Linked DNA regions of Homo sapiens: all the other regions are linked to region 3. Evidence: promoter capture Hi-C in 16 types of primary human blood cells and fetal thymus (Javierre and others, 2016). All regions are on one chromosome and are shown on one strand. Each heading gives the region's core, a stretch centred on a gene start or on the middle of the fragment in contact. The rest is flanking DNA. Distances are from core to core; before and after follow the strand shown. Region 1 holds the start of SLC9A8 (solute carrier family 9 member A8). Region 2 holds the start of SNAI1 (snail family transcriptional repressor 1). Region 3 holds the start of PARD6B (par-6 family cell polarity regulator beta). Region 4 holds the start of RNF114 (ring finger protein 114). Region 5 holds the start of PEDS1 (plasmanylethanolamine desaturase 1).

The links. Contacts are between HindIII fragments. The CHiCAGO score rates a contact against its expected background, and 5 or more counts as called.
Region 1: the fragment with the promoter of SLC9A8 here is called in contact with the fragment with the promoter of PARD6B in region 3 in 3 of 17 cell types (non-activated CD4 T cells, fetal thymus and naive CD8 T cells); the score reaches 12.1 in non-activated CD4 T cells.
Region 2: a contact is called between the fragment with the promoter of SNAI1 here and the fragment with the promoter of PARD6B in region 3, in 1 of 17 cell types (fetal thymus). The highest score is 6.0, in fetal thymus.
Region 4: the fragment with the promoter of RNF114 here is called in contact with the fragment with the promoter of PARD6B in region 3 in 13 of 17 cell types (neutrophils, total CD4 T cells, fetal thymus and 10 more); the score reaches 26.9 in neutrophils.
Region 5: the fragment with the promoter of PEDS1 here is called in contact with the fragment with the promoter of PARD6B in region 3 in 8 of 17 cell types (fetal thymus, non-activated CD4 T cells, total B cells and 5 more); the score reaches 11.0 in fetal thymus.

What each region holds. Positions count from the first base shown.
Region 1 is chr20:49,810,861-49,816,689 of GRCh38, forward strand. It overlaps SLC9A8 (solute carrier family 9 member A8), which reads left to right and starts at 1,968. Exons shown (of 16, transcript NM_015266.3): 1 at 1,968-2,088; 2 at 4,148-4,329. The coding sequence starts at 2,063. RefSeq lists an enhancer at 1,647-1,786 and a silencer at 1,937-2,216. The HindIII fragment of the contact is 7,464 bases long and covers 749-5,829 here.
Region 2 is chr20:49,980,416-49,985,745 of GRCh38, forward strand. SNAI1 (snail family transcriptional repressor 1) reads left to right here and starts at 2,565. Exons shown (of 3, transcript NM_005985.4): 1 at 2,565-2,726; 2 at 3,409-3,936. The coding sequence starts at 2,645. RefSeq lists an enhancer at 970-1,907 and a silencer at 2,060-2,579. The HindIII fragment of the contact is 8,892 bases long and covers 1-5,330 here.
Region 3 is chr20:50,730,313-50,736,405 of GRCh38, forward strand. It overlaps PARD6B (par-6 family cell polarity regulator beta), which reads left to right and starts at 1,268. Exons shown (of 3, transcript NM_032521.3): 1 at 1,268-1,540. The coding sequence starts at 1,475. RefSeq lists an enhancer at 371-420 and silencers at 611-820, 921-1,710. The HindIII fragment of the contact is 2,238 bases long and covers 453-2,690 here.
Region 4 is chr20:49,933,352-49,939,380 of GRCh38, forward strand. RNF114 (ring finger protein 114) reads left to right here and starts at 3,046. Exons shown (of 6, transcript NM_018683.4): 1 at 3,046-3,201. The coding sequence starts at 3,062. RefSeq lists silencers at 608-808, 2,247-2,326, 2,893-3,082, 3,541-3,835, 4,121-4,415 and an enhancer at 2,695-3,300. The HindIII fragment of the contact is 14,536 bases long and covers 1-4,732 here.
Region 5 is chr20:50,152,373-50,158,343 of GRCh38, forward strand. It overlaps PEDS1 (plasmanylethanolamine desaturase 1), which reads right to left and starts at 1,351. Exons shown (of 6, transcript NM_199129.4): 1 at 1,145-1,351. The coding sequence starts at 1,265. It overlaps PEDS1-UBE2V1 (PEDS1-UBE2V1 readthrough), which reads right to left and starts at 1,351. Exons shown (of 8, transcript NM_199203.3): 1 at 1,145-1,351. The coding sequence starts at 1,265. RefSeq lists a silencer at 1,105-1,784. The HindIII fragment of the contact is 1,492 bases long and covers 32-1,523 here.

The sequences.
Region 1 (5,829 bases), core at 718-3,217, 920 kb before region 3:
AGCCAGAGAAATTAAGGCAGTGGAGAGTAGCAGGGCTACTGGTTTAAAAACACTGGCTCTGTGCCTGAATCCCAGCCTTGTCATTTGCTAGCTGTGGGACCGCAGGCAAGTGCCTTGATTTCTCTATGTCTGTGGATAATGATGGTATCTACCTCAAAGCTATGTAAAGAATTAAGGAAACAATAGCCCAACACCACACCTGCAGGAAGGAAGCAAGTTTATTATTACTCAATAAACATTGGTGGATCCTGATGACATTCTCTCAGTCAGCTTTAGCAGTCTTAAGAGACTGCAGAGGATGGAGAACCCAAGGTTAGAGCCAGATTTCTTCTCTACCCAGTTCCTCGGGGCCAAAACCCTGACACCATGCTTAACTCCTCTTTTATACGCCATAGTCCGTCAGCAAACCTTGTCTTCAGTATGCGTCCAGGAGTCCAACCATTCCTGCCACCTCCACCGTATTACTTTCATCCAGACTGCCATCAGCTGTCACCTAGATTATTGCAAAAGCCTCCTTGCTGGCTTTGGGGCTTCCATCCTCTCTCTCTCGCCAATCCCCAGTCAACTCCCAACAGGCAGCAAAGCTTAGGTTACTTCTCAGTTCAAAACCCTTCTAGGTGTGCTAGAATTAACTGATTTATTTACTCAATGATTATTTATTATTGAGTGTCTACTATGTGCCAGGTACTGTTGTAGGCATTGCAGATAAAATGGAGAACAAAACAGACAAAAATTTCTGCATTCATGAAGCTTCCGTTCTCATGGAGGGAGATGGTTAACAAACAAGTGTATGAGTAAAACATATGGTAGGTTAGGTGTCATGTGGAAAAATAGTTTAGGGAAGGCGGGGGGCCTTGGATTTTAAGTAGGGTGGTCAAGGAGGTCTAACACACAAGATAAGGGTTAAATAAAAGGCCAAACGTAGGAGAGGTGGGAGCCAAAGAGCTACCCAGAAGAAGAGCATTCTAGATAAAGGCTCAGTAAGTGCAACGGTGGAAGTATTCCTGGTGAGTCTGGGACAATAGTGGAAAGTCAAAGTGTGTGGGAGGGGAGATATAGAGCCCCATGCCCCCCTCCCACACACTTCAGAGGGGAAAAGGGGGCAGGATTGAGTCCTGTACATTCCCCACGTTTTTTTTTTCTCTGGAGATTGGAAGCCATTGGAGGGTCTAAGCAGAGGAGTGATGAGTTAAGCTGCTGTGTGGAAGTCCGTAAGGAACAGGGGTGAGTCAGAGACCCTGAATGGAGCCGTTGCAATTATCCAGATGAGATAGAGTGCCTTGGATCAGGAAGGGAGGTAGCAACAGAAGCGGCCAATAAAGTTCAAAGTCCTCAGCCCCAGTCCTCCCGATGGGGGTCTCACCTACCCCTCTCACCTCACCTTGTTCCTCCCTGCATCCCCACCCCACCGGTCACTGCTAGGCACATAGAAGCATCTACTAAGCATGTGGTGAATCAATGAACCCCTTAATGAATGGTCCACCCCTAGATCATCAGCATCCTTTTTAACGCTAGGCATATAGTCTGAACTCAACACATGTTTACAGATGGAATGCTGCACAGTCCTGCCAAGTCCAGGCGGTTATTCCTCTCCACAGCCGAAGGAAACTAAGGCTCGGGTGGGGAAGTGTCCCCCTGGGGTCTCTCCGCTTAGGCTGCAGGCTGGGCATCCTTTTTCAAACTCTTTTAGCACAGCGAAGTCGAGGGCACTGGGTGGAGGGTGCTTGCTTGCCCTCAGGGTGAGTCACAGTGACCTCAGAGGAGTTTCCCCAAAACGTCCCCGCCCTGTGATGGGGAAAAGCCGGAATCTCTCGGTCCCAGGTGGTCATGTGGCCCAGGCCGGACAAGCGTCCCGAAAGCCCCGGGAGAGACTAAGAAGCAATCCTCCCACGCGCTTTCTCCCACCCTCGGGCCACTGAGACGGAGGGACAGAGGGCCGCCCTCGCGCGGCCGAGGCCCCGCCTCCCGCTCGCCCGCCCGCGCCTCCAGCGGAAGCCGGAAGCAAAAGCGGGTCCTGCTAGCCCCGCGGCTCCGAACTCGGTGGTCCTGGAAGCTCCGCAGGATGGGGGAGAAGATGGCGGAAGAGGAGTGAGTGGGCTTTTTCCCGGGCGGCGGAGGCGGCGGGGCTGGGCCCCGGCGGGTGACAGCGAGCGCCTCAGGCCGCCCTCCGGCCCCGGAAGGCGGAGCTTCTTTTGCTGGTTGGCCAGGACTGACCAAGCCGGTGCCTACGAGGAGGGCGGGATGGGCGGGCCTGGGCCCAGGTGGGCCTTGCTTTCCCCTGGAGATCGGTCCCTCGAGCTGGGAATCTACTGCCCAGCGCAGGCCCGGAGAGCTGTCTTGCGGAAAATACAAACCATATTTACTTTCCCAGTTTTCGGTAATCTCATGGTTACTGAGCCCTCTTCCGCCTCCTCCAGGAAGTCGTCCGGGTTCTCCACACCCACCTCCTACGTAGCCAGTCGCCTCCTGTATAACGATCAGTTTTCATGTCTTTCTCCTTCACTAAGTTTCATTTAGTCATTAACTGTTAGCCATCTACTCAATTCCAGGCCCTGGGCAGGTGGTAGGAAAGGAGGCCGACCAGGAGCCGCTCTCTGGGAGCTTCCATTCTAGTGGGAAAAGAAGACCATAATTAGTCAAGGTGGTTTCAGATCGTGATTAATTAACGTTATTTGTGCCTAGTGTTCCATTATTGGAACGCTAAGCATGTGGGAGTTATTTATATCCTACTGCTCAAGGTCATCGCCAAGGTCTGATTTTTCTCACGTCTGCAGTTCTAAAAATTGCAACCTCTGGCATGAATGGGTTAAGTGTTCTGAAGGAAGCAAAATAGAGTTAAGGTTGGGGAGTCCACTCAGGAAAAAGTGACATTCAGCAGAAACTTGAATGACCAGAATGAGGGATAGGAGAAATAACATCAGGTTCAAAAGGCCTGGCTCAAGAAAGAGTTTAGTGCTTTTGAGTGACAGGCAGCATGGCTGGTGTGTAGAGAGGAAGGGGGTTAGCTGGACAAGGGGAGATGGGGAAGGACGGGCTGTGTCCTCCAGGTACTTTTGGGCAAGTCCAAAAGTCATCTCCATACCTGCAGGGCAGAGTCTGTTGCAGATTGTAGATGCCCTATCACTGTTTGTGGAATGAGTATGTGAAGATGAATAAGGAACCCCTTCATTGATACTGGAGTCCTTCACCTGATAACTTTTCAAATATATTTCTTGGCCATGTGGGGGTCATTTCATGTAATCAGTTATTTATTGAGCAGCTGCTCCATCCCAGACACTAAACAGCCTCAGCAGCACAAAATAAAAGAGGCAATATAGCCCAGCGATTTCAAGTTTGGGTTTTCAGCTTGATTCTGCCACTAACTGAGATGTTGGTGAAGTTTTGCAACCTCCCTGAGCCTTAGTTATGCATGAGTAAAAAACGGAAAGTAATCATACCCAATCAGACATGTTATACCTATTAAATGAGAGGTAGTGTGTTACCTAGTTCCTGGAATAAAGCAGTGCTCAGAAAATAATAACTTTTGTAGTCACAGTAACAGTTATTATAGCAATATTGTACTAGTTCACAATCCCAGCACAGTGTGAAAGAGCTGTGGGAACATACGCAGTGGAGTGGGTAAATTCGGGTGTGGTAAGATGGGGTAATAGGAGGTGACATTTGAGCCGTTTGAAATCTGAGAGGGATTTTGTAAAGTAGGGTAGGGCATGCCCAGATCAACAACTGGGCAAATTGAGGTGGCTTCTTCAACTTGCAGAAATAATGCCAGGAAAATAATGTAAATTGGAGAAACAAAGGTGCTAAGTAAACAGTGTTGGACCTTGGAAAGTGATGAGACTCCAGTTTGCCTCCCTTTAAATCCCCCAGTATTTGCCAAAGAGCAGGCAGCATTTCATTTCTATACTAGCTCTGATTCCCTACCGTTCTTGTCCTCTAAGTGGCTGTATTCAAAAGCACCAGAGGCCACTGGTACCCTTGTGCTGTGCAGGCAGGGATTTTCTTAGTAAGTTTCTCTCGAAGGCCTGCCTGTTAAAGACTTCTGAATCCCATAAAGTTCTTGGACAGCTTCTCTTTCTGGTGTGAGGTGTGTGAATTGATGTTTTGGGACCCTTTTCCATTATCTAATTATGCTTTCTATGTCCTCCAGGAGGTTCCCCAATACAACTCATGAGGGTTTCAATGTCACCCTCCACACCACCCTGGTTGTCACGACGAAACTGGTGCTCCCGACCCCTGGCAAGCCCATCCTCCCCGTGCAGACAGGGGAGCAGGCCCAGCAAGAGGAGCAGTCCAGCGGCATGACCATTTTCTTCAGCCTCCTTGTCCTAGGTGAATATGGACACTGTCATCCCCATCATCTGCCATCCCGTGTCTGTGTGCTCGGTCTGTGTGTTTAACCCTGTCACTCCTCTTGACTGTCAAGTCTTCCTCCCATTTGGTTTTCATATCAAACACTGAGGGAACATGATCAGTTTATAACATCATTAACAGGAAACTCTCTTCTTTATAAAATCATGGTGCTTAGCAAGTTCTGAAGAGCTGTTGATGTAATATCTTGGCCTTTGAAAGAAGGATTAAAAAAATTTTGGCCTAGAAAGAATCTTGAGGCCTGGCGCGGTGGCTCAAGCCTGACATCTCAGCACTTTGGGAGACTTGGGTGGATCACTTGAGGTTAGGAGTTCAAGACCAGCCTGGCCAACATGGTGAAACTCTGTCTTCACTAAAAATACAAAAATTAGCTAGGCGTAGTGGTGTATGCCTGTAATCACAGCTACTCAGGAGGCTGAGGCACGAGAATCACTTGAACCTGAGAGGCAGAGGTTGCAGTGAGCCGAGATCACGCCGCTGCACTCCAGCCTGGATGACAGAGTAAGACTGTCTGGAAAAAAAAAAAAGAATCTTGAACATCTAGTTTAATGGATTTCAAGTTCTACTCAAAGGAGTATGCACCTGTGCAGGGGATGAAGGAGCAGGGGGTGGGGTGGCAGGAGGTGGGAGGAGTCAGATGGGAGAATATCTGACCCCCTGCTCCTGGCTTCAATCAGAGCAGCATTTTGTGTTCATATTTATTTGACTTCCATGTGAATTTTATTTAATGGTTTTGCTGCTGATTGAAAGAGCAGAAACCCTTGCCCCAGCACCCTGTTTTCCTTAACCTCTGTCATTCTCATTAACCATGGTCATGACTTTTGCCATATCTATGTACCACCTGTATTGTTAATTTAGTTATGTACTATTTTTGATTAAATGCATTCACTCTCTGAAAACCTCATTTTGGGCCGAGTTTGGTGGCTCATGCTGGTAATACCAACACTTTGGGAGGCCAAGGCAGATGGATCACTTGAGGTCAGGAGTTCCAGACCAGCCTGGCCAACATGGTGAAACCCTGTCTCTACTGAAATTACAAAAATTAGCTGGGCGTGGTGGTATGTGCCTGTAATCCCCGCTACTCAGGAGGCTGAGGCAGGAGAATTGCTTGAACCTGGGAGGCGGAGGCTGCGGTGAGCCAAGATCGTGCCACTGTACTGTAGCCTGGGCGACAGAGTGAGACACTGTCTTAAAAAAAAAAAACAAAAAAAACCAAAAAACTAATTTTGTTCAACCTTCTCTTTTAGTGTGTGAGGAAATTTCAGCATAGAGAAGTCAGGTGGTTGTCATACCAGGCTGATATAAGACTAGAGACTGATAACCAGGTTACCAGATACCAGTCGAGAGGTTTAGATAAAAGACAAAAACTTAAATGCCTCCCAGTGTGCCTCCATCTCAAAAAACAAACAAACAAACAGACAAAAAAGAAATCCAGTTGAAACTACACAACCACTTTTGATT
Region 2 (5,330 bases), core at 1,315-3,814, 750 kb before region 3:
CTCGACATTGTGTTTTTGAGATTCATCCCTGTTGCTGCATGGAGTTGTAGTTCATTTTTATTGCTGTATAGTATTCTATTACAGGATTGCACCAGGGTTCATTAATCCAGTCTACTGTTTATAAACATTTGTGTTGTATCCAGTTTTGTTTTAGTTTTTGCTTTTTTTGCTATTAGGAACGAGGGTACAATGAATATCCTTTTTTGTTTTTTCGGGGTTTGGGCTGGACAACAGTTCTTTACTTTGCTTGGTTGCTCATTATAATCCCCAGGGGAGTTTTTTAAAATGCTGATGCCAGAGGCCCCACCCAGACTAATTAAATCAAGATGTGGGTGGGGGTGGGGTGGGCCGAGGCTTAGGTGTTTTAATCCTTCCCTGTGGGGATCTAATGTGCTGCCAGAGCTGAGAACCCCTGGGATGCAGTTGGTTTGAGGACAGACTTGTCAGCTGCAGCCCCTGGGATGCAGTTGGCTTGAGGACAGACAGGGAGAGGAGTCACCTGTTGCTAGCTGATGCCAAACTTTTCCAAAGTGACTATGCCCACCGACCCTCTCGCCAGCTCTCACCTCCTCATCAACTCTTGATAGTGACCAAATTTTTCCTTGTTGTCCTTCTGATGGGCGTGAAATGGCAGCTCACTGTGGCTTGAATTTGCCATTTCTCTCTTCACTAAACGAGGCTGAGCAGTTAGTGAAGTTGCTGCTGAAACAAAGAATGAAAGGAAGCCAGCGTGAAGATCTAGGAGCAAGAGACGTAGGGGAGAGGAGGAAGAGCAGCAGGTGCCAAGGTGGGAAAGGTCTGGGATGTTGGAGGAACAGAAGGAAGGCTGGGGGTGGGATCCTTGTGCATGGGGGAGGGAGAGAGGCTCAAGCCAATGTCAGCTGGGGTCAGAGCAGCGGGGCCGAGTTGGCTGAGGAGAGGACTTTGGCTTTTACTCTGAGACAGGCGCATGGGAGGGTTTGAGCAGAGGAGGGGGTGATCTGGCCTCACTTTGGCTTCAAGCAAAGGATCCTGATTGGAGCTAAATTGACACGGGACGGGGAGTATTCCGCTTAATGACTGCTTACTGCCTCTGTCCCCCACCCTACTGCCCGCTCTCCAGCTAGAACCAGGGGAGGACGATTTTGTTCACGGCTGTCACACCCGGCACCAAGTGACTAAACAGACAGTAGTTCTGCCCTTCAGGTTGGTGGTGGTGGTGGTGTGGGGTGCTTATAGGTTTTTATAGTCTTCCTTCACAGGTGGAAACAAGAACGGTGAGACCTGTGAGGTTTATTTCAGAGCCACCCCCGGGCCTGGTACGCCTCCCAGGGAAGCTGGGGTGGGGGTGCAGCTGCCCCTCACTTGGGCCCACCCCACATGCATTCAGTCAGGGCCCCTATGGAGCCGTGTTACAGCCTTTAGACACAGGATCGAGGATCTTCACGGGGTGAGGAGACACGCCCGGCCCATGCCTTCTTTCTCCCGCCAGCCTACAGGGATCTTTTTCAACGAAACTCTAACCAGGTCCCTCCTCAGCTGAAAATCCTTCGGTGGCTCCCCAGTGCCCTTGAGGCAAAGTCCAAACTCCTACGAGGCCCTGGGGCCCAGCACATCTGACCCCTCCGGGCATGCCCATCCCACCCCATCCCTGGAAGCTGCTCTCTAGGAGTTACTCTGAAGCAGTTGCCACTTCTTCCCTCGGGCCTTTTCCCTTGATAATTCTTCACTTCCTCTGGGAAGTCACCCCGACCCCCTGTCAGGTGACCCGCCTCTTAACGGTCGCCGCGTCCCGTCTCTCCCCCACCAAAGCACACTTCCCTTTGCATTGTAATTATCTGTTTACTTCGTCTGTCTCCCTCACTGGACCAGAAGCTACCCTTCGGGAGAGGCTCTGAGTGTTCTGTCCGGGGCTGTGCCCTGGCCCCAGGTACAGTGCCCCACACGTGCTGGGCGCTCCGTAAACACTGGATAAGGGAAGGAACGGGTGCTCTTGGCTAGCTGGGCCAGGCTGCTTTGCAAAAAGGCCGTGGCATTTCAAGCCGCCGAGAGCCACGTGCGGTGTCCCTTTCCTCGCTTCCTCCCCAGTGATGTGCGTTTCCCTCGTCAATGCCACGCTCTCCAGGCGCCAGCCGGGCGGAGGAAATTTCCGCCCCCTCCCAAGCCCGAGGCGGGGGCGGGCGTCGGAAGGTCAGGTGTCCCGGCCGGCGCGCAGCGCCAGGGGGCGTCAGAAGCGCTCAGACCACCGGGCGCTGAGCCGGTGGGCGCGCGGCGTCCTGCCGGGGTCCCACCTCGCAGAGGCCTCGCTTCGCTCGACGTCCCGCCCCGGACAGCCCCAGCACCGGGGACGACCCGCGCTGCGCCAGCGAACCCCGCCTCGGAGGAGTCCCCGCCCGGGCTCTCACCGCCACGCGGCGCGAGCCCGGCCAGCAGCCGGCGCACCTGCTCGGGGAGTGGCCTTCGGCGGAGACGAGCCTCCGATTGGCGCGGAGGTGACAAAGGGGCGTGGCAGATAAGGCCCCGCCCCTCCCACCCCCCACCACCCCCCCGGAGTACTTAAGGGAGTTGGCGGCGCTGCTGCATTCATTGCGCCGCGGCACGGCCTAGCGAGTGGTTCTTCTGCGCTACTGCTGCGCGAATCGGCGACCCCAGTGCCTCGACCACTATGCCGCGCTCTTTCCTCGTCAGGAAGCCCTCCGACCCCAATCGGAAGCCTAACTACAGCGAGCTGCAGGACTCTAATCCAGGTGCGTTGGAGGGGTTCTGGGCTCCAGGAGGTTTGGGGGAGACAGGCGAAGGCTGCGTGGGGGGCACCTGAGGGAGGCGGCCTGCCTGAGCCAGGATCGAGTCACAGGATGTTTTGTGGACCATTGCGGGCTCGGGAGACCGGGCAAGTGGGTCCCCAGTTCCGGGGATCTGTCTGGGTGGTTGGGGGAGTGCCGTGTAGAGGGCAGGGGTCTTCAGCTTGGGGGGCCTTTGTAGCCGGCGAGAGGCGGAGGAGCTCCGCAAGAGGGGAAGGAGAGGAGGCCTGTGTCAGGAGGGCCCTCTGGACGCTGCTGGGGAGAGTCCGGAGTCCAGAGGGTTGAGGGGAGGGGTGGGGAGACGAGATGTGTGTGAGGAGGGGGATTGGGGCAGGGTGGTGGCTCCGGGGCTGGGATGATGGGGTTCTGGCCTCAGGCTGGAGACTGGGGACTTAGGAGAGGGAGATCAGGAAATGACCTCCTTCAACTGGGGGTCCTACGTGTGAGAGACTCAGATTGGGTGACCTGGGCGAGGAGGGCAGGAACCTGGTCTGTCCTGTGGATAATTTTTTTGATCTAATTATGTATTGAGAATCGGCCCCACCCAGCCCCTGGCCAGCGGTGGGCTCATGTTTGTTGATTGAGTGAATGATTTAATTAACGCCTGACTCTGCTTTTTCTCCCTCAGAGTTTACCTTCCAGCAGCCCTACGACCAGGCCCACCTGCTGGCAGCCATCCCACCTCCGGAGATCCTCAACCCCACCGCCTCGCTGCCAATGCTCATCTGGGACTCTGTCCTGGCGCCCCAAGCCCAGCCAATTGCCTGGGCCTCCCTTCGGCTCCAGGAGAGTCCCAGGGTGGCAGAGCTGACCTCCCTGTCAGATGAGGACAGTGGGAAAGGCTCCCAGCCCCCCAGCCCACCCTCACCGGCTCCTTCGTCCTTCTCCTCTACTTCAGTCTCTTCCTTGGAGGCCGAGGCCTATGCTGCCTTCCCAGGCTTGGGCCAAGTGCCCAAGCAGCTGGCCCAGCTCTCTGAGGCCAAGGATCTCCAGGCTCGAAAGGCCTTCAACTGCAAATACTGCAACAAGGAATACCTCAGCCTGGGTGCCCTCAAGATGCACATCCGAAGCCACACGCTGCCCTGCGTCTGCGGAACCTGCGGGAAGGCCTTCTCTAGGCCCTGGCTGCTACAAGGCCATGTCCGGACCCACACTGGTACGTGCCCCTCCAGGCGCCCCCACCGTTGCTCTCTCTGGCAGCTTTTGTGAATCTGGGCTTGCTGTTCTCATTCCCAAAGCTGTGGACACTGAGGCCCCGAGTCTTCTAACTTCTAGCTCAAGTTCCAGGGCCTGGCTCTCTGGAAACGTTTGGCAGAAACTTTCTTCATCAGCTAAGCAGATGGGCAAAGCAGACACCTTCCCAATCCCCTGCAGCCTGTTTCTCAGCCAAATGGGTCGGAGCTGGATATGGGAAAGGTGCAACCAACACCTTGCTGTGGGGGCCAGGTGTGAAGGGGCCCACCCGGCCACACCCTCTCCCGGGTCCGCCCCCTCCCTAGCCAGACAGGATGTTGTCAGACCCCCCGCCTGGCTCTGAATCCTTCTTTGAGAACTTTCTCAAAACTTAGGCTGATGTTTCTCTTCTGTGAGCCTCATTTTCTCTATCTTTCAGATGGGCATGAGAACAGCTTTTGGGGTTTCTATACAGGCTAAATGCAGGAATGCATATGGGAAGCACCTGGCAAAGTGCCGGTACCTGCTAAACTCTCACAAAAATGGTTCCTTGGCATTTGCTCTGCTTCCTTGCTGTGTGACTTTGGGCAAGCAACTTAACCTCTCTGAGCCTTAGGGGAAAACTATGATAGCATATGTTTTAGAGAGTGGCTGTAAAGGTGGCTAATCACTTTATAGTAATTTATTATACCCGAACGGTTCTCAGGTCGGCTTCCCCACCCCCACTGAATCCTAGCACACAGACCAGGAAACGGCATCTTTGGGGCAGAAAACACAATCACGTCTTTTGAAAATTTACTAAATGTGTAAAAAACTTTCTGGACATGGAGAAAAGGTAGAACTTTTTAGAACTTGAATGGTGGCAGCCACTGTGCCTGGAGCTGCTCTTTGGAGAGTGACAGTTGAGGGAGAAGATTCCACAGGGTTCAAGCTGGCCAGGTTCTGCCATTTCCTGGCCTGGCGCCTGACCTCTGAGCGGTGAGGGTTAGTGAGGTGTCTGGGAGGACTGGCAATTCGCGGGCTTTATTGGCATCTTATTCGACTAAGGCTACCCATTTCTCTTCCTTCGTGCACCAATTGCTCTGATTTTAACATGTAAAGGTCCAACTGCCTGGCCTCCTGGGTGCCTGCCCAGCTCACAGGGCTCTATTTTGGGACAGTTGAACCCCTCAGGGTGCTGCAGTCCTGCCTGCCTCTCTCACCTCCCATCTGGACATTATTTTAATGTAAAGGCATGGCTGAGACACAGAAATCCCCTTGAAATGTATCATTGCGGTCCTCATTGACTCCCATTGTGTGCCTTAATGGTGGGCCCAGTGGGTGGGGGCTGGGAGGGGTGGAGCAGGTGCATGGGGCAGCGGTGCCCAGCACCTGTTC
Region 3 (6,093 bases), core at 18-2,517:
GCTTGCAGGTTTCAACAGCTCTTGGATTCCCGGGTCCCACAGGGAGACCTTGGGACCTGGGAATCTCCTCCAGCCAAAAGCTTCAGTCTTCTCCTCTCCTCCCCATGACCCACAGGGTCTGTGTGAAGAGAGGCCGGGCTCTGGGACGTTCAGAGAGGAGGATTCAGCGTTTTGTTGCTCTGGGACACAGCTTGGTCACTCCGGGAAACGAACACAACCTAGAGGCTGTCATTTGTAGAAACAGCGAATGGCCAAGGAATGGCGGGAGGAGGGAAAAGGAAGACTTTTAAAGAAAAAAAAAAAAAGCCCTGAAAGACTGGACTAGAAATCCTCAGGGAGGCTGGGCCTGCAAGGAGCCTTCCCGCGCCTCAGCCCACTTTCCTTCCCTCTCGACCTGACGGACTTAAGGCGTGCAGAGTCTCTTCGGACAAAATGAAGCCAAGAGAGCCCTAAGCTTCTCCCCCAGCAACCGCTGCAGAGGCGGGAAAACTTGAATTTTGCAACCAAGAGTTGCAGCGGGACGCCTAAGCAACGATAAGGGGCGGTGGAGGGGCGTCGTTGGGGGCTGCAGCATCCCAAAGTGGAAGCGGGAAGGGGGCCCGGCTGGAACCGAATAGCCCCGCAGCGCCTCGGCAACCGGACGGGCGGCGCATCCAATCCCCTGGACCGTGCGTGTGACTGGCGCGCGCTAAGCGGCGCGAGCCCCGGCGGAGCCGGGCAACCAGGCGCGCGCTCGCGCGTGCGCAAAAGGCCCACCCAGCCGAGCCCTTCTTCAGGTGCGCTCGCGCTTCCGGCCGGCCTCCCCGCGTGCCTTCCCGGGGCGGAAACTCCAGCACCCGCGCATGCGCCTTCTGGCTCTCCGGCCTGAAGCGGGGCGGAGGGCCATGGCTTCAGGTGATCCCGCCCCTCCCTCGTAGCGCAGGACCAATCGTGCGGTGGTAGGCGGGGTTTTGAGGAGGCAGCCCGCCCACGCACCGCGCGAGGCGTGTATCGATTGGTTGGCGCCGCGGGCGCAGGTGCGCGCTTTCTATTGGGTGTGGGCGGAACGCGAGGGATTGCGGCATCTTCGGGGGCTGCAGGTGAGCGCGCGCACGCGCCGCGGCTGTGGTCCGCTCGGGTGCGCGCGCGCGGGCTCGCGGGGGAGGCGGCAGAGGGAGAGGTTGCGGCGCTTGTGGCCTCCGCTCCGCCCCCTCCTCTCCTCCAGCGCTGTCGCCGTCGCCGCCGGGGCCCGGAGGGAGGGAGCTGCTTCCCCGCCTGCCGCGCCACCAGTCCGACCCTCGGTCCCGCCGTGTGAGCAGCTGGTGGAGTGGAGCTCAGCGCGGACGCCGGAGCTGCGGCCGCCCCCTCTGCAGGTGCCTGTGAGGAGGCGCCCGGGCCGCAACCGCTTTCCGAGATCCCCAGTCGCGCACTCGCTCCCCGCGCTCCTGAGGGGCCGCCCGGCCGGAGGAGGCCGTCGCGGGGCTCGGCGTTCAGCATGAACCGCAGCCACCGGCACGGGGCGGGCAGCGGCTGCCTGGGCACTATGGAGGTGAAGAGCAAGGTGCGCGGGGCCCGGGCTGGGCGGAGCGGCGGGCCTGGGGGGCCGGGGCCTGGGAGAGGCCGGGCCAGGCTCGGAGCGCCGGGGGAGGCGACGGGCTGAGCTGCCCCGGGGTCTGGACGGTGCGGTCGGGAGACTGTGGGTAATAAACTTGCCGAGGAGGGGGTGGCGGGGGTCAGGGGGCGCTAGTGTCCGCCCCTGGCCCGGGCAGGAAGAAGACCTAGTCCAGCATTTAATCTCATTCCGTAAATCTCATTCCCGTGTTCACGGACGGGAGTAGGGGCCAAGGTATATCCAAGGATGGCGCACACTGAGTGAAATGCGAGGCTGCTCAAAAGGTGTAGGAGAATCCTGCCTGCTGGGCTGTGAGTAAAGGGCCCTGGACCACCCCGTTGTTCCCACTTTCTGTGGTTAAGGGGCGCATCGAGTGGCGAAGGAGAGAGCCCAGTGAACTAAACAGCCCTTTAAAAGTTCGCTTTGCTTCCTGCTGGCGCTCTTTCTAGCACTAACTTTGGTATGCATTTAATCTGTAAAATTAGTACTATCACCTTACGTTGGAGTAGCACTTTACAGTTTGACTCTAGATGCTCTTTTCATTCCATCCTGCTACCTACTCACATCAAGTGCTTTTCCCCTTGACCAACGGTATGCCAATCTGCTGATAATTACTTCGGTATTCACTGAATTTCTAAATCTCAAGGCTCAGTGAGCAGGGTAGTCTGTAGGGAGGGATTAGTTAGGGAATGCCTTCCAAAGGGGGTTTTGAGCTGGAATTTGAAGGTGATCGGCAGCCAAGGGAACACTTTCAGCAAGCGTTTCTTGAGTTGAAGAGTTAAAAGGAGCTTAGATAATCTAGCCCAATTCTCTGAGAAGACTGAGGCTTAGAAAGGTTATGACTTCCTCAAGCTGTTTTTTTGCAAAGCCTTCATGCCTTTTTAATAACTTCTAGACATTGCAGAATACAAAACAGGACACTGGCTGGGCCCTGAGAACATTTAAAATAGAATTGAGAAGGCCAAAACACAGAAAAGGAGAAAATTGAAAGTATATCAATTTCAAAAAAAAAAAGTAATGGAGCATCATAGATGGTAAGACTACTAAGGAGTATGTAAAATCAAGGAGTGATTTGAGTGAGGTACAGTGGAGTAAGGAAAGCTTCCTAGAGCCTCTAGGTAGAATAGTTTTATTGTCTAGGGTTGATAAGCAAAGTTCTGTAAGTTTCTGTAACTGAGAATCACATCGAGAAAATCGACATTCGTTTGTAACATCATTAAAAAATGTGATTTGAGTCTGGGCGCGGTGGCTCACGCCTGTAACCCCAGCACTTTGGGAGGCCGAGGCGGGTGGATCACCTGAGGTCAGGAGTGCCAGACCAGCCTGGCCAACATGATGAAACCCCATCTCTACTAAAAATACAAAAAATTTTTAGCCGGCCGTGGTGGCACATGCCTGTAATCCCAGCTACTTGAGAGGCTGAGGCAGGAGAATCGCTTGAATCCGGGAGGTGGAGGTTGCAGTGAGCCAAGTTTGCACCATTGCACTCCAGCCTGGGCAACAAGAGCAAAACTCCATCTCAAAAAACAAAACAAAACAAAAACAAAAACGGCTTGGCACTTACATGAGGATTGGCACTAGTTTCAGAATTAGTAAGAAAAGACGTGTAGTTACAGCAATTTAAGGAATGTGCATGTCCATGTGTCCTCTGTGCACAGCATAGCAAATTGAAGTGACTTGCTTGAGCTATAGCGTTAAGATGACCCAAAATACATAGCAGAACTTTTCCTTTAGCGGTATGGTGGCAGTAGAGGTTCCATGCCCAGTGGTTGAACCTTCTTATGGCATTTTTGTTATAAGTTTAGTTTGGATTTGTGGGAGTTGAGGTTATGGAAAGAAAAACACTTGTGATATTGCATAATCTTAAAATTTTAAGTTTATAGCCCTAATCTTGGTAGCAAGTCTTTAATTTTTTTCCACAGAAAAAAATGAGTAGGAATTCTAAGTATACTGATAAATACAATCAAATAGTAATTTATCTCTAGTACTAAGAAACCTTGAGTGCTTTAAAACTGGAATTTCAGGCTTTTTGCCTTTCTCTTGTCAACTGATTTGTGAATCTTTCACTTACTTCTGTCTAAACTACATGTTGTATATTTGAACTGCCATACTGCACTTTCAGCTAACTGTGTCTTTTAAATAGAATCATACACTGATTCTAGGAACATGTGCTGAATGAAGTCGGTCCCACTATTCTAGCTGTTGACAAATAGGCAAGATATAGGTAGTGAGTGTTTCTAGTATGTCTATGACACCTTATATGTTTCAAATATATATTGCTGATACATTTATTTTCAGTAGATTGAAACATTTGTCACCTTAACCATTTAAAAAATATTTGGAAGGGTTTTTGAAACAGTATTTTCTTTGACATTGCTTTAGTGATACCACAGCTTTTTACAAAACTGATTGCTAAGAGTTTATAACCAAAACTAGGTAGTGTGCCGGTCCTTTTTTTTTTGAGACAGGATCTTGCTCTGTCACCCGGGCTGGAGTACAATGGCACGATCACGGCTCACTGCAGCCTCAACCTCCTGAGCTCAAGCGATTCTCCGATTTCAGCCTCCTGAGTAGCAAGACTACAGGCGTGCACCACTACACCCAGCTTATTTATTTATTTATTTATTTATTTATTTTGTAGAGATGGGGTCTCTCCATGTTGCCCAGTCTGATCTTGAACACCTGAGCTCTAGTGATCCGCCCGTCTCTACCTCTCAAAGTACTGGGACTACAGGCGTGAGCCACTGCACCTAGCTGGTCCATTTTTCTCTTACTATTTTCAATTTTTTTTTATCTTTTTAGAGACAGGGTTTTGCCATGTTGGTCATGTTGGTCTCTAACTCCTGAGCTCAAGTGATATTCCCACCTAGGCCTCCCAAAGTGTTTGGATTATAGGCATTAGCCACCACACTGGGTTCCGGTCCATTTTTAGGATCTCTTTTTCTTCATATAAACAGTAATGTTGGCCAGGCATGGTGGCTCACACCTGTAATCCTAGCACTTTGGGAGGGCAAGGTGGGCGGATCACCTGAGGTCAGGAGTTCAAGACCAGCCTGGCCAACACGGTGAAACCCTGTATCTACTAAAAATATAAAAATTAGTGGGGCGTGATGGCATATGCCTGTAATCCCAGCTACTCCGGAGGCTGATGCAGGAGAATTGCTTGAACCTGGGAGGCGGAGGTTGCAGTGAGCCGAGATTGCGCCACTGCACTTCAGAGCCTGGGTGACAGAGGGAGACTCTGTCTCAAAAAAATAAAAAAATGCAATAAAGCAGTAGTGTCAACATTATTATCTTCACACGTGGAAGGGAAAAATAGTAATGATAAAAGAATGGAGAATGTAAATATACCTATAGTTCAATTTGTGGTACCAGCTAGTATGTGACTTTTCTTTGGTAACTGTTTTATCTTCCTAATTGTATCTCTAGTGTTGGGAAGATTCTTAATCAATAATCTTGATGATGTCCTTTAATAACCCTGGAACAGTCTTTGAGTCATAAAATTTCCTAATTATTATTCATAGGCAAATAGACTATGAAAATTAAGTTTGCATTTCTAGAATGTACCAACAGACACTGGGGGAAGGGAGTCCATACACATTCTGGATGGCTAGGGCAAACTAGGCTATGAAACAGTTGTAAATGGTTCACAAGTGAATAATTGCTGATTGAATCTTAATTTTGTCTCTTAGTGTTTTTGTTCATGTAAAAAGTTCCCTTAATCCTATTGTTGTGTTGCAAGAAGCATAACAATTTCTCTTGGGTTTTTTTTTCCCATGCCAATATTGGCAAAAGTGCAAATATACCATGAAGCCATACAATTTTTTATTGTTTTTATCATAACAGTTAAGCAAGAGAAAATATTGAGCGAAGAAATTTCATCCAAAAGCTTTAACAAAAACATTGAAGCCCTAAAATGTTAAATGATCAGATGTTATTCCCATTCATACATCAGGGGAAGTGATAAACCCTGTGGATGAATCAGCAAGCACTAGCAACTTCATGTTGTGATACCAGAATAAAGAAAATGGAGGAGAAACTGTGACTTTTGATAACATCATGAGACTAACTGATATGAAGGGTGTTCCCTGAGTTTTTATTTACTTTGAAATGTGAAGGTGTGACTAAACTTTTTGAGAGCCTTAGGTATGAGTCACCTTATTTTCTTGACAGATGTTAGTGTTTATGTTTCAGGAATGTGTTTTGGGAACTATTTTAATTTTTGTTAGAGGTAAGAGGTGTTTTTAGTGAGTTTTGATGTTAAAACCACTGAGGAGTATGGGTGTAAGCAGAGCAGGTGAACTTTAGATAGAGCAAAACCAGTGAATCCAGATGTCCCATGGGACCTTTGGGAAAATGAAGTGACATATTTGTAAACTCAAATTATTATGGTAGGGGCTTTCTCTACATGATGCTTAAGGCTGTACCAACAGTATTTCTCTTTTCCTTTTTTCTCTGGGACATAATATTTTTACATTAGTATTTCTTGCTAGTAATAGATA
Region 4 (6,029 bases), core at 1,796-4,295, 800 kb before region 3:
ATATTTCATGCAAATATCTTTTTGCGTGACCAAAGAAGAGGAGGGCTGGCAATACTAATATCAGAAAAATTACTTGTCCAGGCCGGGCACGGTAGCTCACACCTGTAATCCTAGCACTTTGGGAGGCCGAGGCGGGTGCATCACCTGAGGTCAGGAGTTTGAGACCAGCCTAAAAAATATGGTGAAATCCTGTCTCTACTAAAAATACAAAAATTAGCCAGGCGTGGTCGTGCATGCCTGTAGTCTCAGCTACTCAGGAGGCTGAAACAGGAGAATCACCTGAACCCAGGAGACAGAGGTTGCCGTGAGCTGAGATCACACCACTGCACTCCAGCCTGGACGACAGAGCAAGACCCTGTCTCAAAAAAAGAAAAAAGAAAAATTACTTGTCCAAAAGGTTACAAGAGATAAAGAAGGCATTGTATGTTAATAAAAAGTTCAATACAGCAAGAAGATATAACAATTATAAACATTTATATACCTAATAACAGACCATCAGAACATATGAAGCAAAAATTGGTAGAATTGAAGGAAGAAATAGACAATTCCACAATAATAGTTAGAGACTTCAATGCCCCACTCCCAAGAATAAATAGAACAAACAGGAGACAAGTAAGGAAATAAAGGACTTGAGCGACACAGTAAGACAACCAGGTCTAACACATGTACAGACACTCCCCAGCAACAACAGCATCCACATTCTTCTCAGGCACACATGGGATATCCTCCAGGATGGACCATATGTTAGGCCACAGATTAAGCCTCAAGAGATTTTAAAAGGTAGACATCAGCCAGCTGTGGTGGCTTAGGCCTGTAATCCCAGCACTTTGGGAGGCTGAGGCAGGAGGATTGCTCGTGCCCAGGAGTTTGCAACCAGCCTGGGCAACACAGCCAGACTTCATCTCTACAAAAAGAGACAGAAGAAAAGGAGAAAGAGAGAAAGATAAGAAGGAAAGAAAGAAGAAATAAAAGAGATCATACCAAATATCTTCTCCAAGCACAATTGGATAAGGCTAGAAATCAATATGGGGGGGTTAAAAAAAAAAAGAAATCAATATCAAAGGAAAACTGGAAAATTCACAAATTTGTGGAAATTTACACACTCTTAAAAGAACCAATGGATCAAAGAAGAAATCACAAGGGAAATTAGAAAATACTCAGAAACAGGCCAGGCTGGGTGGCTCACACCTGTAATCCCAGCATTTTGGGAGGCCGAGGTTGGCGGATCACTTGAGGTCAGGCGTTTGAGACCAGCCTGGCCAACATTGTGAAACCCTGTCTCTACTAAAAATACAAAAATTAGCCAGGCGTGGTGGCAGGCACCTGTAATCCCAGCTACTTGGGAGGCTGAGGCAAGGGAATTGCTTGAATCCAGGAGAGGGAGGCTGCAGCGAGCAGAGATTGCACCAATGCACTCCAGCCTGGGCGACAGAGTGAGACTCCATCTCAAAATAAATAAATTAATTAAATAAATAGAGAAAATATTGAGAAACAAATGAAAACAAAAACACAGCATGCCAAAATTTACTGGACACAGTGAAAGCAGTGCTCAGGGGAAATTTTATAGCTATAAGTGCTTCAAAATCATAGACAGAAAATTGCCAGGGCCTGGGGGTATGGGGATGGGAGGAGGGAAGAGGAAGTTATTGTTTAATGGGGACAGAATTTCAGTTTCAGTTTAGCAAGAAGACCAGAATTTTAGAGATAGCTGATGGTGATGATTGCACAATATGAAATGAATGTACTTTGTTGTTGGGGTTTTTTTGTTTTGTTTTGTTGTTGTTGTTGTTGTTTTTTGAGAGGGAGTCTCGCGCTGTCGCCCAGACTGGAGTGCAGTGGCAAGATCTTGGCTCACTGCAAGCTCCGCCTCCCAGGTTCAAGCCATTCTCCTGCCTCAGCCTCCCGAGTAGCTGGGACTACAGGCGCCCGCCACCACGCCCGGCTAATTTTTTGTATTTTTAGTAGAGACAGGGTTTCACCGTGTTAGCCAGGTTGTGTTTTTGTTTTTTTTTTTTTTTTTCAGACGGAGTTTCGTTCTTGTTGCCCAGGCTGGAGTTTAGTGACTGTTGGAGTGAGTGAGCCATCTTGGCCCACGGCAACCTTCGCCTCCCAGGTCAAAGGCTTTTCCTGCCTCAGCGTCCTGAGTAGCTGAGGCTACAGGCATGGGCAACCACGCCTGGCTAATTTTAGTATTGTTAGTAGAGACGGGGTTTCACCATGTTGGCCAGGCTGCTCTAGTACTCCTAGGCTCAAGCGATCCGCCCACCTCGGCCTCCCAAAGTGCTGAGATTACAGAAGTAAGCCACCTTGCCCAGCTCCTTTGTATAAATAAATGATATTGATTTTCTTCTTGCAGCTCAGGAATTAGATCTGTTATTAGAATTTGCTTAAATTTAAGAAATGGCTGGGTACTGTGGCTCACCGCTGTAATCCCAGCACTTCGGGTTGCCGAGGCAGGCGGATTGCTTGCGTCCAAGAGTTCGAGGCCAGCCTCGGCAACACAGTGAGACCCGCCCGCTCTCTGCACCACTCCTTCCCCCCCTCCTTTCCCCGTCTCTACAAAAAATACAAAAATAAATAAATTAGTCCGGCATGGTGGTGACTGCCTGTGGTCCAGCTACGCAGGAGGCTGAGGTGGGAGGATCGCTTGAACCCCGGTGGTCGAGGCTGCAGGGAGCCATGATCGCGCGCGCCACTGAACACCAGCCTGGGCGACAAAGCAAGACCTTGTCCCAAAATAGATTAAATAAATAAATAAATAAATTTAAGGAAAAAGCAACTTGATTCGAAGATAAATAGTGATAGTGCAAGTGGTGCCGAACTAACGATAAATTTGGAAAACAGCGGCCCACGCGCAGAGCCCGTCCCAATTCTGGCAGCCTTTGGATTTGGCTTCCACGTTTTCCAGATTTCCCTCGGCCTCTAGCTCGCTTGCGTCAGAGGGGCCCCGAGGGGCGGCCCACCCGCTAGCCCCGCCCCCAACCGCTCACCGCCCCGCGAGCCCCGCCCCCTCGGCCTCCTCCTCATCGGCCGCCGTTGCGCGGCGCAGAGCGGCAGCAAGATGGCGGCGCAACAGCGGGACTGCGGGGGTGCTGCGCAGCTGGCGGGGCCGGCGGCGGAGGCTGACCCCCTAGGACGCTTCACGTGTCCCGTGTGCTTAGAGGTGTACGAGAAGCCGGTACAGGTGCCCTGCGGACACGTGTAAGCGGCGAGCCCGGGCCTGGTCGGGGGGCGCTTAACTGGGAAGGGAATGGAGCCGAGGAGCGAGATGGGTCTCAGGGCGGGAGCCAGAGGACCCACCCAGAGGGGCCTCCCGGGGGTGTCCCCCGGGGCTCCTAAGGGCCGTGAAAGCTGCCGGGGCGCTCTTCTGTCCCGCCCCGCTCACTCCTAAGTATCCCGTTCCTCCGCCCGTCTTAGCGGGGCAGCTGCTGTCTGTTGAGCGCCTGCGATGTTCCAGGCGGCCTGTCAGTCTCCTTCCCACACGTGATAGTGGACTCGTGCCCTGCGGGGACTTTAGGCTCCGAAGTCCGCCCTTGGAGAGCCGACGTTTCCTTTCTAGTCCACGTCGCTCTTAAAGCATAGGACATTTGGCGTCGTGTCTAGCTGTGGCGAGTTATTCTACTGTGCACTAAAGTCGGGAGAAACGCTGAACTAGACTAAAACAACAAAAGGGAAGTCTTTATGGGGATCTGGCCAGTTTGCCCTTAGCTGTGAAAGGGGGGTGGGAGTTGGCAGATGGGATTGTTAGCATTCTACTTCCTGTGTAGGAGGTTTGTTTCTTTCAGTTTTCAATTAAGCCTTCATGACCTGAATATTGTGAATAGAGTGGTTATAATGATTAAAGCAGATATGTGTATAAATGTCCAGTCCAGGTCCTGGGCTGTGGCCGGGGCTTTCGAGGTTGGTCAGGTTGGTCGATTTGAATCTAAGCCTTGTTCCATCAGACGCACAAACACATCTGAGTTGAAAGAATTGTAGACAACGTGGCCACCTGCTTCTTGCCTCAGAATTGGCTTTTCCTCTGGCCCCTCTCAGTGCTTATCGTGGGATCACCTTGGCATTGGTCTTGGCAGCGGGCACAGTAGCCATTGCACTCCATGGGCATTATTCTATAGCCACCCTGCAGCGGGGGAGGGTTGGCAGCCATTTTACAGGTGAATACACTGAGGGTCCGAGGCTCTCTTAGGGAAGGGTCACCGTGGCCTAGCTCTTCCCAGATGTACTGCAGGTGACCATTTCAGTAGTCCAGAGAACAGTGCTTGGCACCTAGCTGGCTGCTTTTTGCTTCATCATGTTGCTTTAGGCTATTCATCTTTGCAATTCGGTTAGCCTGGAACTCTTCCCCCCACCCCTCCCTTTTCAGGCTTCAAGTCCCAGGTTAAGTTACCTCACCAAATACCATCCCCATCTAAATTACTTCCCCCACTTCCTTTCTGGGACTTAACTTCCTTCTCCTTGCTTGCACAGAGCAAAACTTAACAGCTCATGACGGAGTGGCCATATCTTTATTGCCCCTGAACTGACTGGAATGGCCTCTGTGTGCCAGATTTTGGGGTAGACTCTGCCTTCAGAGTTTACAGTCCAGTGAATTGATTATAAATAAGTACCAATGACTGGTCAAACTATTGTAAAAATTCATTCTGCAAGTGGGAGGGTATTTCAGGGATCACACCTCTGTGCGTGGGGTGAGTGATCAGGTAATGGTTGAATGAACTAATAAGTCGTGTAAGCAAGCTTCACGAGAGTTGAAGTGGTCTTTAGCTTTTTCATTGAATCCACTTATCCTTGGATCAGATTTACCTGATTTTGGATTAATTCAGTGGATTTCATTTACTATTAACATTTGTAAAAAGGCTAGACCCAGCACAGTTTGCTAAATGAAGAGCAGCAAAATTTGAGATTTTCTTGAGCTTGGTGAACCTTTCCTAGGTCAGAGGGCAAGGAACAGTACTGGTTTTCAAACCTTGGCTCTTCTCTATCCTCGCTGTCCTAGCCCCACGTGATCAGCAGTTCAGTGCAAATTGAAGACAGATGGAAGCACCTCTGTGAGGGCAGCCCAAATCCCCGCTAGCTCCAACCGACTGCTTTCTCCTGTGCCTAGTTGATTTTTACCTTTTGTGCTTGGAAAGTTGAGCATCACTGCAACTCTGGCTGGGGCATTGGATTTTTATAAAACTTTATTTCAAGCCCTGAATGACTGTGTTCTCCAATCTGGTAGAATACAGCTGGAGAAAGGCAGCTGGCTGGGTGCCCAAGAGAAGGGAATTTCTTCCTAGCACTGTGACGGAGTGGAGCATCGGAAGGCTGAACTAGAAAAGGGCGCATAAGTAGGAAATAGAAACTGAAAAGCCATCCCAGGATATTTGAGTTGTTCAAAAGCAGGCTGGTAGTTTGGGCATGTCTCAGGCACAAAGTGACTCGTGAACATTTGATAGATGAGCTGTACCTGTGTGTGTGCTTGAGAAGAGACTTCGAGCTGCTTTTATCTGCATGCTGGGTTTGGTTCCATTATACTCACTGGACCCTCTGTGCTCTCTTGGGTTCCTCTTGTCATCTGCCTTTGTGAACAGGCAACACAAGTGATGGCCACAGGCCCTGCCTGTCTCTACTGCCTCATCACTTGCCCTTCTCACCATGGTCTACCGCATCATGGCCCCCAAGGTCTGCCTGCCTTCCTTTCCAGTCCTCATTTGTGTGTGGCGTGATCTTGGTGTGGAGCTCTGCACCCAGATCTGTGTGGCTGTCCTCGTAATCAGGTCCCACCCAGCTCAAATGCCAACTCCTCAGAAGCAGCTTTCTATGATCACCCCAGCTGGTCTGTTTGCCATATTTCCTTCATATTTTTAATCACTATCTGAAATTAACATTTGTGTTTCCCTTCACTCTAGAATGTAAGCATCATGAGAACAGGGCTTTGTCAAGTTTCCATTGCCCTCAGTGGTGAATGAATAGACTCCCTCACCTTCTCTGTACCTGGTCTGGAATTTTGCCTAACAGCATTAACATCTAACTTAATGACAAGGAGGAAG
Region 5 (5,971 bases), core at 101-2,600, 580 kb before region 3:
AAGGAAGGATGTCAGGATATTTGACAAACAAAGCTTCATTCCATGGTGACACCCAGGTAGAGGTGCCTCCCAGTCACCTGAACCAGGAGTTCTCAAAGGCACTTCCTTAACTCCTGGGGATATAGGGCCCTCCTGAGGCCAAACAGTAAAATTCCTAGGGCTCACGTAGGAGTCACAAAAGTGGGTGTAGGGGGGGTGCTTGCTGGAGCATATACAGTGAGCAAAGCAGGAAGAAGCTAGGGAGAAACCGTGGCCTGAGGGAAAGGGACAGAGAGGGAGAGGTGAACTCCAACTTATGATCTGGTCTGGGGAATATGGGGGTTCCAGTCCCAAGTCCTAAGGAAGGGGCCAATACATGGATGTGAGGGAGGGGCAAGAGCTAGAGTTGGGGCTTATGTACAGGGGAGCTTACAGTGGGGTACATTCAGTCCCCTCACTGCCTGGGATCCAGGAATATGGGGCAAGGACTGATGCTCACCACTGGAGGGTTGGGGAGAGGATATCGGTCTGTAGCCACTGAAGCTATCACTAGGATGGGGTTTTGGGGGAAGGGTGTGGGGGGTACCGTGCAGCTGGAAGCCCCTGAGTTAGGGTTCCCTGGGCAGAGGGGCTGACATTCCCAGGTTAGGGAGGTGAGGTCATTGTTTGCAGCCCAGGGCCTGGGCTAGGGCACAGAGGAGGTACTAGGATGTAGATTCCAGATCTGGGGAACCCAGGATGAGGTGTGACTTTTAGGGGCCTGAGGGCAGTGCTTACAGCTGAAGGGCAGCTTTGGGCTTGGACCGGGTCCTGGGGGGATGAGGGGGTGGGGTTCTAAGTCTAGGAGCACTCTTCACAACCGAGAATGCCCCGGGGCTAGGATTCCGTATCTGCGGGTCCGATGGGAGCTCCGTTTGTCGCCCAGGGAGCTCATGGTAATTTCTTGATCTGGGGAGTGTCTCTGCAGCCAGGAAACCCCGGGGCCAAGGTTCTGGCTTGGGTTCGGAAGGGACACTGGGGTGGGGTCCCCGAACTTGCTATTTGCAAGTTAGACACCCGGGCTGGAGTTCCGCATCTGGGCCCGAGGTTGGGACTCCAGTCTGGGGTCGCTGTCCGCAGCCGGGGCTGGTGACCGCAGGCCTGGAGGGGGGCCCAGAGGTCTTACCTGGCGAGTAGAGCGCAGCCAGCTCGCGGGCCCCGGCGTGCTGCGCGCCCCAGCGGCAACAAGACGCCTCGTCCTCGTCCAGCTCCAGCTGCTGGCCCGGCCAGTTCTCGGCGCCCGCCATGGCCACTCGCCCGATCGGCCCGGTGCGCTCTGCTGGCGGCGGCGGCGGCAGGGCCGCGGAACCGCGGCGAGATCACGCCGCCCAATGACCGCCCAGCGCCGGGCGCGGCGGCGGCGCGGGCGGGGTCCTCGCCCGGCCGCGCGTCACAGCCAATCGGGGCTCGCGCCGGAGCCGCGCAGGCCAATCGGACGTCGCTGAGCCGCAGCCAACCGCCGCGAGCCGGAGGCTGGGACGCAGCTGGACGCAGCTGGGCGCGGAAGCTTGGGGCGGAGGCGCGTGCCCGCCTTCCCAGCTCAGCCCCGGCAGGGCTCCCGGCTCCAGCCCACTGGGAGCTCGCGGCGCGTCGCCGCCCAGCTAGGCTTCGGTTCACGGGCCCATGCAATGGGCCGAGGCAGGGCCCAGAAATGGGCATTTCTTGAGCCGGCAGCGTTAAGCGCCCACTGTGTGCAAGGAACGCGAGGGCAGGGCGCCGGGCTGGGGCCGAGGCCAGGAAGCATTTGGCGGGTGCTCTGTACGATGCTCCCTAGCGAGGCCGATGGAGAGTGGGCTGGTTTATCAAGCCCTACTGTGTGCAGAGGTTTCGGGTGCCATGTGTTCATCAGCTGTGTGCCAGCTCTGTGCTGTGCGCCCAAAGAGGAGAAACGTCGAGCCTGCCCCGCATCCTCCCCAGCTCATGTTCTCCCGGTGGCGAGGACAGTAAACTAATGAAAATGACAACTAGGGTCACTATGAGATTTGCTGAGCGCTTAATATCTGTCAGGTGCTGGACCAAGAGCTAGACGAGCAACATTTATTTGACTCTTAAACACCAATGGTATTGCCTCCTCAGAGAGCCCCACCACCACCACCCTGCTCAAAGGTGCCCCCTCCTCCAGTCACTGTGACATCACCCTGTTTTGTCTTCACAGCGCTTCTGGTGGGGATTGAGCTTGCAGTCCCTGTCTCTCCTATCAGAGAGCAAGCTCCTGAGGGCAGAGAACAGCTTTGTTTACAGCAGGGCCCCCGTGCCAGGATCGGGGCTGGAACATGGTAGAAGCTCAATAAATGCTTGATGAATGAATTAAGGCTCAGCCAGATGCGTCTAATACTTCGGCAGATAAATGACAGCAGCAGGGATTTACCCCAGGTCTAACCGACAACAAAGTATGCAATAATTTCTCATAGAAATTCCATACAGGCAGCCGGGCGCGGTGGCTCACGCCGGTAATCCCAGCACTTTGGGAGGCCAAGGCGGGCGGATCATGAGGTCAGGAGATCGAGACCATCCTGGCTAACACGGTGAAACCCCGTCTCTACTAAAAATACAAAAAATTAGCTGGGCGCGGTGGCGGGCGCCTGTAGTCCCAGCTACTCGGGAGGCTGAGACAGGAGAATGGCGTGAACCCGGGAGGCGGAGCTTGCAGTGAGCCGAGATCGCGCCACTGCACTCCAGCCTGGGCGACAGAGGGAGACTCCGTCTCAAAAAAAAAAAAAAAAAATTCCATACAGGCTGGACGCGGTGGCTCAGGCCTGTAATCCCAGCACTTTGGGAGGCCGAGGCCAGTGGATCACCTAAGGCCAGGAGTTTGAGACCAGCCTGGACAACATGGTAAAACCTTGTCTCTACTAAAAATACAAAAATTAGGCAAGCTACTTATCCCAGATACTTGGAAGGCTGAGGCAGGAGAATCACTTGAACCTGGGAGGTGGAGGTTGCAGTGAGCCGAGATGGCGCCACTGCACTCCAACCTGGGTGACAAGAGTGAGACTTGGTCTCAAAAAAAAAAAAAATCCATACAGTGAGATCACATAGGAGCCTCCCTAGAGGCTGTGGAAGGTCCTGAAAGGTGCTGGGGGAGCAGAGAGGGAAGGTAAGATCCCCTTCCAGAATCCAGGTTCTCTGAGGGTTTAAGTCCTGGATTCCTGCACTACCAGTCACCCCAGGGCTGTTTCCTGAGTGTTCCTACCATAGACAGCCACTGTCCCCACCCAGGCCTATGCTCCCTCCGTTTCTTTCCCACACCTGCTCCCAGGAAGGAAAAGCCACCTTCCAGTGGCAGGGATGGGTTGCAACCCAAGTCCTGGTGAATTCCGGTGAAGCTGGCTGGTTTTGCATCAGTATTAACAGCACAGTTAATCCAACAGTTGGATTTTTTAACCCAGGAGCTTAAGGCTTGGGTGGGGGGCGGCGGACGGGGGGGGGGGGGCGCGGTTGGTGGCTTTGGTGGGGGCTGGATGTCAGATTTCAGGTAAATACCTTCTAAAGCTCTCTGCTCGTATCCCACAGCCTCCAAACAGGGTAGGGTGGCTGGTTACTGCTGCTGTCCAGAGACCCTCACAGTGGCCAGCACCAGATGGTTGATGGACAGACTGCCTGAGATAACTCATTCCTTCATTCATTCACTGAACATGTTTATTAAACACCAACCTGTCCCAGGGAAACAGCAGGGAATGTGACAGAATCCCTGCTTTCTTGGGAGGTGGGGGTGAAGGTTAGGGAAGTCCTGTTTAAGAAGGTGACATTGGATCCAAGACCTAAAGGATATGGGGGAGACAGTTACTTAAAATGAGCTGGGAAGTCCCTTCCCTGTGGGGTTTTGAGTAGAGGAATGACATGATCTGACTTTTTTTTTTTTTTTTTTTTTTTTTTGAGACGGAGTCTCGCTCTGTCGCCCAGGCCGGACTGCGGACTGCAGTGGCGCAATCTCGGCTCACTGCAAGCTCCGCTTCCCGGGTTCACGCCATTCTCCTGCCTCAGCCTCCCGAGTAGCTGGGACTACAGGCGCCCGCCACCGCGCCCGGCTAATTTTTTGTATTTTTAGTAGAGACGGGGTTTCACCTTGTTAGCCAGGATGGTCTCGATCTCCTGACCTCATGATCCACCCGCCTCGGCCTCCCAAAGTGCTGGGATTACAGGCGTGAGCCACCGCGCCCGGCCGACTTTTTTTTTTTTTTGAGACGGAGTCTCACTCTGTCGCCAGGCTGGAGTGCAGTGGCACAATCTCGTCTCACTGCAACCTCTGCCCCCCGGGTTCAAGCGATCCTCCTGCCTCAGCATCCTGAGTAGCTGGGACTACAGGCACGCGCCACCACACCCAGCTAATTTTTGTATTTTTAGTAGAGACCGGGTTTCACCGTGTTGGCCAGGATGGTCTCGGTCTCTTGACCTCGTGATCTGCCCACCTCAGCCTTCCAAAGTGCTGGGATTACAGGCGTGAGCCACCCCACCCGCCTTTTTTTTTTTTTTTTTTTTTTGAGACAGGGTCTCACTCTGTCACCTGGGCTGGAGTGCAGCAGTGGCACAATCTTGGCTCACTGCAGCCTTGACTTCCCAGGCTTAAGGGATTCTCCCACCTCAGTCTCCCAAGTAGCTGGGACTACAGGTGCTCGCCACCATGCCTGGCTAACTTTTGTATTGTTGGTAGAGATGGGGTTTTGCCATGTTGCCCAGGCTGGTCTCAAACTCCTGGGCTAAAGCCATCCTCCCACCTCAGCTTCCCAAAGTGCTGGGATTATAGGCATGAGCCACTGTGCCCAGCCTATATCTTTTGTTTCATGAGATATAAATCTTTTTTTTTTTTTTTTTGAGACAGAGTCTCGCTCTGTCACCCAGGCTGGAGTGCAGTGGCGTGATCTCGGCTCACTGCAAACTTTGCCTTCCGGTTTCAAGCGATTCTCCTGCCTCAGCCTCCTGAGTAGCTGAAATTACAGGCGCCCACAATCCCTGGCTGATTTTTGTATTTTTAGTAGAGATGGGGTTTCACCATGTTGGCCAGGCTGGTCTCGAACTCCTGACCTCGTGATCCGTCCGTGTTGGCCTCCCAAAGTGCTGAGATTACAGGCATGAGCCACCATGCCCCACCAAGAGATATAAATTTCATACCTTTTAAAGTATAAAGTGAACCATATTAAATTCCGTGGTTTTTAGTATATTCACACAGTTGTGTAATCATCACGACTATCTAGTTCCAGAACATTTTAAGTACCCCCAAAAGAAACCCCATATCCATTAGCAGTTACTCCCTCACTTCCCTCTTTCCCCAGCCCCTGGTAACCATTAATCTACTTTCTGCTTCTAAGGACTTGCTTCTACTGGACATTTCAATATAATGGAATCATATAATCTATAATTATATGAAGCCTTTTTTGTCTGGCTTCTTTCACTTAGCATAATGTTTTCAAGGTTCATCCATGTTGTAGCACATGTCAGAACTGCACTTTTTTATTCTTCCAGTAGCTCAGATTACAGGCATGCGCCATCACGCCCAGCTAATTTTTTTGTATTTAGTAGAGACGGGGTTTCACCATGTTAGTCAGGCTGATTGTGAACTCCTGACCTCAGGTGATACACCTGCCTCGGCCTCCCAAAGTGCTGGGATTACAGGCATGCGCCACCGCGCCCGGCCACGTATATCTTTTTTGGAGAAATATCTATTAAAATCCTTTGCCTTGGCCGGATGTGGTGGCTCATGCCTGTAATCCCAGCTACTTGGGAGACTGAGGCAGGAGAATCATTTGATCCTGGGAGGCGAGTGATCCGAGTGAGCTGAGACCACGCCATTGCACTCTAGCCTGGGCAGCAAGAGCGAAACTCCATATCAAAAACAAACAAACAAAAAATCAAATCCTTTGCCTTTTTTCAAATTCAGTTATTGGTATTTTTCTTGAATTGTAAGAGTTCTTGATATAGTATGGCTATTAATCCCTTATCATATATAGGATTTACG